Regions from separate parts of the Homo sapiens genome. Here region 2 is linked to region 1. The links are contacts of gene promoters, found by promoter capture Hi-C in human tissues and cell types (Jung and others, 2019). All regions are on one chromosome and are shown on one strand. The core of a region is centred on a gene start or on the middle of the fragment in contact, and the rest is flanking DNA. Distances in the headings are between cores, read along the strand shown.

Region 1 (4,001 bases), core at 993-3,492:
CCTTTCTGCGTTTAGATGTTTACTGATAAACAGAGCAACTAGCTAGTCAGTGACAGGACGAGTTTCCTGGTACTCAGATTGACTTGAGCCATTTCTGTGAAGAGGAAGCCAGGTTGTGGAATGGGGAGCAGGGAACACAGAATCTCTAGCATATTGTTTTAAAAGGAAAACTCAAGTACCAAGTAAGATCACCTTGAACACAATCAGTGTCTATATGATTTCACAAAAGATGTTAGACTGTTCTGAACTGAGAATGTTATCCATTTGGAAAGCCATTTTTACTTGTATACCTCTTAAAAATATAGTAAGATCCTTTGTGTAACTTATTCACTAAGCAAATTGCACAAGACTTCTTCAAACTAACATTCCTATTTAATATTCACACTTTACTAGCTCAAAATGAATAGCAACTATAAAGGAGAGTCTAAAGGGGACACCTATACCAGTGTCCCCACACCCACAGGGAGGGAGCTAAGTGAATAGCCAGAGCACACAGAAGGTAACTGCCAGACCTCAAGGCTCAACCCACATTACACACCCATCCTAGAGAAAACATACACATATAAATAAATGAGAATTAAAATGTTTCATTGATTCTATCTCAATAAGGCAATCTACATACTCAAATAGCATAAAGTTTATAGCTGAGGCAAAGGAGGCATTGTGCTTAGCATTTGAGATAATTATATTAATTTTCCACTTTAGAATAAGCTGGTTTTAAAGAGATAAGGAGGAGCAGTTAGGGATTAAACAGTCACAGAGTATAGCCACCTCTTTGGTTTTTGACACAAAGATCCCTTGATTGGAATTTAATCTATTAACTTGGATTCACTTTATTTCACAAAGGAAATTAGAGGTGCCTCACTGGCCCCACTTGGTAGGTATAAACTAATATTTTACTGACAGATATAATCTTATATGCCCCGACATCCCATCACTGAGTAATACAAGTTGCCTATGGTTTTCTTGTTTTTTGCTTTCTGTCAATTTGCAAGAAGCACACGCTACTTTTAAAGAATAAACAATGGGGTGATTGATGAAGCCCACAATTACACAGCCAAGAATATTTTACAGAAGAAACATTATGTGTTTCCTGAAATTTCCACCTTGCATCATGCCCAGGTCTACGTGCTTTATTCTCTATATTTTTAAAGCATAGAATTTGAGAGTTTTGCATGTCAACAATGTCACATGGTTGTCACCCTGAAATGAGAAGAAACCAACACAGCCCAGTACCCAGAAGTATGCTCTCAAATTTCAAAGAGCAATCTCAAAGTATTAAATAGCTTAGTAAAATGCAGTTATGACTTTCCCTTGACTGAAGGGAAGAGAATTTTTAATGTAATAGCAGTAACAGTTAAAATCCTCTTAGCCCGTTATCTATAAGGCATTTTCACATTCACTATCTTATGTAAAAAGATAACTCACCAAACCAGGTGTTTAAGGACTTACCTATTTTTGCAAGGGATGCTAGAAGTATCCAGAGAGTGACCTCATAAGGAATTTGCACATAGTCATAATCCAGTTCAAAAACAGATATCCCTTCCTCTGGCTCTGAGCTGGCAGCAGCAAACCAAGCGTTAGATGCATACTGAGCAGTGGAATTTGCAGATTCATTCAAATCAGAAGATGCTTCAGAACACTCAAGAGCCACTAGCAGTAGCAAACAATTCCAAGGACTGTAAGTCACGAACATCTGCAGAGCCATTCCTGTGGGCTTCTCCTACCTACACCCCTGTGTGGATGTGTGCCACACATCTGAAGTCGGGGAGGCTTCTAGAGAGTGACTGCATCCACCTGGGTCAAAAGTAATATAGGTACAGTCTGTGGGTCCTCCCAAGAAGATTCCGAGTGTGTTATTGAGCTCTGTATGTAGACACTTTCTAATCTGGTTTAAATCGTTTGTGTTCAGGCAACTCAGCTTCCAACTCAAATGCAGTTATTCAATAGACTTGTTAAAGTCCATGGAGCTACCTGGAGGACCTCCATCCAATCATGGCTTGAGCAATTTATGAAAGAAATAAAAATCTCTTCACTTAAAGGCATTTCCTCATTTCACTGCATACTGGCTTTGTCTTGTGGGTGAAAATTTAAAAGGATACTGTAGTGCTCATTCCACAGATCACTGGAGTCCTTCTAATGAGGAAAGGAAACCTTCCCTGTCTATCAGATCCCAAGAAGGAGCTACCTGATCTGCGCTTGTTCCTTCTCTCCTCCCCCTGTCCTCTCATTTGTTTTGAATGACCACGGCTTCAGGTAGCTCTGGAACTACACTTAATTATTTGCTTTGATTTGACTTTTGTAATGAAATCCTTTCTCTGAGGGTTCTCTGGAGGTCACACTGCTGACACCTAGTGGGCACCTGCAATACAACACCCTTGACACTTTCAGTTATGAACGTTAAGGTGACCATGAAATTATCTAAACCAGGACACTTTGGGGAATGAATAATAATGATAATTATGCAAAGCTATAGGCACAAACCAGAATTGTCCAGCAAACTGTCTTATATGGTCTCTATACATGAGGAAGAAGGAGGATAAGAAGGAGGTGGTAACAACAAGGATGGTAGCAAACACTGAAACTTTTGCATGTTACCAGACTCCATGAGCAGTCATTCATAGAAGGAATGAAGTTCCAGATCTCTATGAACTTTACACTATAATTTTTAAAAAACAGGAAGCCAAAGAACAAGTTCCATAAATACACCTAAATACCTGGATTTGTAAAACTCCATGGCACATCCAGATTTTCCATTTAAAAAACATTTGTTGTTGTTAAAAAGAAGCAGCATCATAGAATGTTGATGAAAGAATTTTGAGATAATTTTTATGAGCCTACTTCTCGCTCTTCTACTTGTTGCCAGGTGACCTTGGTGAAGTTAATTACCTTTCAGAAATTCCTTATCTGAAACAGAGAGGAAAATATCTGCCTCATTGAGTAGCTAGGAACATTAAATGAGATAAAGCAAGTAAAGAATTTGGCATGTAGTTGGCACTTAAATGTTAGTTTTTATTTTAAATTACATTTCTTATACTTTTAGGATAAGATACAACACTTTTGCAATGATTACTGATACTCAGTAAAAAATGAGAATAATACATCATCCATATACTACCCCAACATCTCTTTTACATCAAACTGCAAGATGCTTTGTGTTTTGTTTTTTCTTAGTTCATATTAGTGAGTGCAGGGGATTTCCCCCCAGCCAACACACACACACACACACACACACACACACACACACACACACACACACTCAGCTAACATCACTGGGAAATTGAGAAAGGAATGGTTGAGAAGGGCTAACACCTAGATGCAAATTCATAGTGAGGCAATAGAATTAAAAGTTCACATATGAATATTTTTTCTTTTTCCTTCAGTTTGACTCCAGAATAGATTAGATTCAGTCACTGAAATGAGACTATCAGGTGGACTACAAGAAGGGTACACATATTGAGTCGATTATTTTTTCTCAAAGAATATATGAATATCCTTTAATAGAAAGCTGCTTTATAATAGGTGTTTTATTTTTATTTGCATTTTATTGTACTTTTCTTTCTAAAAAGAAATGAGGGAGCAAGTCTCACATAGTGCCTTGTGGAAAGACCAAAATGAAGAATCAAAAGACTTATGTACTCAGACATTAGTTATCTGATTGGCTTTGGAAAATTACCTGTTTGAGCCTTATAGTTTGAGCCTTTATAGTTTTCTCATCTATAAAATAAAGATGCTGTCCATACCTGGTAACCCTTTCCTGCTCTAAAATTCCAAATTTTGTGAGTATATGGCAACCCGTTTAGCCTTATGATCACCTGATGGCTGATAGTCCAGTCCCTCTCAGAGTAAAAATGCCAATCTTGGGAGGATGGTAAGAGAACAACTTGAGCTCTGCAACAGTCTACTAACTTGTGGTCCAGGTTAAGATGTAGCAGCCCACTTCATCAACCATCGGCATCACTTCCACTCATGCAGTACTTTCTTACAGATGTCAGAACATT
Region 2 (4,033 bases), core at 1,386-3,885, 37 kb before region 1:
ACTTCCTGTAGGGGATGGCTCAGGAGCACTTTATCTTCTTGGTCTCCATTCCCTGAATTCTCTCTGATTTTATGCCCAGCTTCCAATGGAACCTTTAGAAGTTTGTCAGGGAGTGAAACCCTCAGCCTCCTTACTTGTCTCTCACTTGGTAGTGACTCCAGTGCCCACACACATCTTCGATTCCAGCCTTTAAGTGATCCATCAGCTGCCAAACAAACACAAGAAAATGATTGCTGGAGAAACGCGAACTCTGAAAGACACACAGGACAACTAAGACACTTTAAAAAACAAAGGAGCCTTTAATTTTCTGGAGCCTATCTGACTTTCTATCACTGTGTTCATGTAATAAAATATTTGGTGCCTTTCATAGTAATTTCATAGTAATTTCAACTTTGGTTTAAAGACTCTGTAGATAAGTTTCTTCATAATTCACATAATACGTAATGAAAACAGGGCACCTGGCATTTGCTTTGGATAATACTTTTCTAGAATGATCTAGGAAATTTCTCATTACTGAAATCACTCGGAGGATAATTAATAATAATAAAATATATCATATTTAAGATATTATTAAATAATTGTAATAACTTACTTTTAATTTCATTGCAGAAGAAAAGAACACACTGTTATCCAATCATATAATTTCTGAAAATATAATTCTGTTAATATTCTACTATAACATAGAATAACAAAGTATCTCTCATTTTAATATGCTCGTTTGATCTGAGTAATTACATATGACCACTTAAGCAAATTATATTGCATTTGTTTTAACCCAAATTGTTTATGGAAATTTAGGAAAAAGTGCAATCTTCAAAATAATTATGAAATTAGTCTCCAAATATTTTAAATTTGAAATTATTGAAGTCTATACTGGCTTCTGAATTTTGTTTTGAAAAATAGTTTGAAATATTAAATTAATTATTAAATAATTAATTCACTACCTTCTACCAAAAATTATAACTTTTTTGAGGAAAAGAAAAATAAATGAGAGAAGAGTGAAATATCCAAGTTCCATGGACTTAGGTGGATTATGCAATATGTCGAAATAATAAATCATAGGAGATAAAGATAGATGTTAAGTTGTTACATGTTTTAAAACAGTCACTACTTATCCTTATCTGTTAATTATTTTCAAATGGCCTTGAAAATTTTTCATTAGGATTTCCTGGAATTTAAATAACCAAATTTCCTAGGTCACTTTGACCATGAACTTTAGGGTAGATTTTGGAAGACTTCATCATTCATCAGTTTCTCTAGTATTAAAATGGTGAATTCTCAGGGATAGAGGAAACCTAAAATTTTTCAAGTTCAACTATCTCCTCAAAGCTTGAATCTCATGTGCAGCAACTATGCCACATGTTCCCAATCACTGGTTAGACACATCCACTTCAGCTTCGGGTGTGCCAATCAGGAAATGATTGTCAGAATGCTCTTTCATTAACTGAGTTGAAGTCTCCACCTATAACCCTTCAGACATTAGTTCTCATTTCTATTCCTTGGAGCTGTACACAGTGGTATCCCTTCAATGTTGTGCTGAACTTGAACAAACAAATAGAAACCATGCCCAGTGTCATATTCATCTTTGCCTGACTGGGATGTTTTCACTAAAATCTGCCACTCGGCCATGTTTGCAAAAGAAGTAATACCCTTTGCCCCTCCTATATTCAAAAAGGGCAGAGGACCCCATATTTCATTGGAACGGTGATTTTAGAAACAAACAGGACAATTTTGAATGTTAGTCACTGTGATAGTATTTTGAGGTATCAATTTAGACAGGCAAGTCCCCGGTTATTCAATCAAACAGTACTCTAGATGTTGCTGTAAATGTATTTTATAGATCTGATTAAAGTCCATAATCAGTTGTCTTAAGGGAGATGACCCCAGATAATCTGGGTGGGACTGATTCAGTTGAAATGTCTTAAGAACAGGCCTGAGGCTTCCCTGATGAAGAAAAAATCCTACTTGTAGACAGCAGCTTTGGCTCATGCCTGAGGGTTCCAGCCTGCTCTTCTGGATGGCCTGTCCCCTGGATTTTGGGCTTTCCTAGCCAGCCCTAACACTAGTGAAAAACAATTCCTTACAACAAATCTCTTCCTATATCTATATCTATATCTATATCTATATCTATATCTGTATCTGTATCTGTATCTGTATCTGTATCTGTATCTGTATCCGTATCCGTATCTGTATCTATATCTATATCTATCTATATCTATATCCATCCATCCTACTGGCTCTGCTTCTCTGTTGAACCCTGATGGAAACATCACCAGCTTGGACAAAAAAGGAGGACAAAATGAAAGAAAGATGTCGGACCCTCACAATTCTATAAGCAAGAAATAGACTGATAAAATTACTCAGCTGCAAATTTATGCTACCTTTATAAAAAAAAAAAAAGGAAGTATGATTCAGAGGGTGAAATTGAGAACCCAGAGGGTGGAACAAAGAGTTGCAAGAGATTAGGGGATTCCCAGCCCTTGGAACCAAATAGAGCTTGCCCAGGAAACATTGAAGTTTGCTTAGTATCGATGACTCCTTTTTTTCTTCCATTATCTCCATAGTTTTTTGAAAGGCAACAGTTACAACTGTTATTCAATGAGTGTCCTACCATATATTTTAAGAGCAGATAACTTGTTTCCTGAGTTTTGCAAATTCATAGATGAAGAGAAACTGAGCCTCAGAATAGATTATACCCAGAGCCTCACTGAGCCCTGCTCTAGATGATGGAGATATTGAGATTTGGGATTTTTGAACTGATAAGATTCAGATGATATTTTGGATTTTGAATTGATGATGCAGTGTATTGAGACTTTTGGGGTATTGGGATAGAAGGAAGATATTTTGCATGTGGAACAGATATGAATCTTTGGGAGACAGACGGCAGACTGTGGTAGGGAGAACAATGACCTTGCAAAGATATCCATGTCTTAATCCCCAGAACTTGTGAATATGGTAGTTTAGTTTAAAGGAGGATTAAGTGGCAGATGGACTTAAGGTTGCTAATCAGCTGACCTTAAGCTGGAGACAGTCTCCTGAACTATCCACGTGGCTGCAGTGGGATCATAAAGCTCCTTCAGTGTGGAAGAGGGAGGCAGAAGGATCATTGTTGGAGGGATGCAGCCTTTGCAGGCTCTGAAGATGGAAGGGGCCATGGGCCAAGGAACACAGGCAGCCTCTGGAAGCTGTGGGAGGTGAGGAAACAGATTCTCCCCAGGGCCTCCAGAAAGGAGCGCAGCCCTGCAACAACTGGATTTTGAACTTCCGACCTCCAGAACTATAAGACAATAGATCTGCATTGTTTTAAGCACTAAGTTTGTGGCAATTTCCTACAGCAGCCATAGGAAACTTATACAGTCACTCTTGGCAGAGTGGGGAAGGAAAGAGGAAGTCTAGTGACACGTGCACATGTCTCATGGTGACAAAGGGGAAATGTCTTGTTAATTTATTAATTGTGACTATGAGATAACTTACACGAATATGAAGCTCTTCATTGATGGATTCTTTTTTATTGGTTTTTTTAACATCCAGGTACCTGACCAGAGGGCCAACTGTGATTCCCTAGATCAGAAATAACAAAACAAAGGGTTTTGTTGTAATGAAGACTGTCACTAGAGAGAGCAAATTTATTAACAAAACTATTAGAATGTCCAATCTATATGTTTTTGTACTAGCTATTACAGAGTAAATGCTGCAATGTTCATTTCAGTTTTCCATTCCTTTAAGTACTGCAATAAAAATAGATATCATGCCTGTATGTTAATATAGGAATTTGGTTTCACCCATTAAAATAATCTTTCATTAGTTCATTAAGAGCTAACTCCAACTAAAACAAAAACTTGTGCTACGTAGTACTAATTGGAATCTCATTTTCAGAAATATGGAGTGACTATTAGTCACCTGTTACTCAGGAATCTTTTGATAAATATGCTGTATTGATTAAAAGGCAATACATTTTAGAAGTTAAAGGATGGTCACAAACATGATCTAGAAATCTCCGGAAATTTAGTTTGGGTATTGAGCACAGATCTGA

What was found. The method cuts DNA at HindIII sites, captures the fragments that hold promoters and counts their contacts. A contact is called where the count stands out against the background at its distance.
Region 2: a fragment that was not itself captured here is called in contact with the fragment with the promoter of SLC9A4 in region 1 in 1 of the 25 tissues and cell types used here (small bowel).

What each region holds. Positions count from the first base shown.
Region 1 is chr2:102,471,467-102,475,467 of GRCh38, reverse strand. It overlaps SLC9A4 (solute carrier family 9 member A4), which reads right to left and starts at 2,242. Exons shown (of 12, transcript NM_001011552.4): 1 at 1,453-2,242. The coding sequence starts at 1,708. The HindIII fragment of the contact is 8,886 bases long and covers 1-4,001 here.
Region 2 is chr2:102,508,375-102,512,407 of GRCh38, reverse strand. It overlaps SLC9A4 (solute carrier family 9 member A4), which reads right to left. Exons shown (of 12, transcript NM_001011552.4): 6 at 3,475-3,561; 7 at 135-205. Among named protein-coding and RNA genes, the nearest start is that of SLC9A4, 37 kb to the right of the region's middle. The HindIII fragment of the contact is 5,271 bases long and covers 1-4,033 here.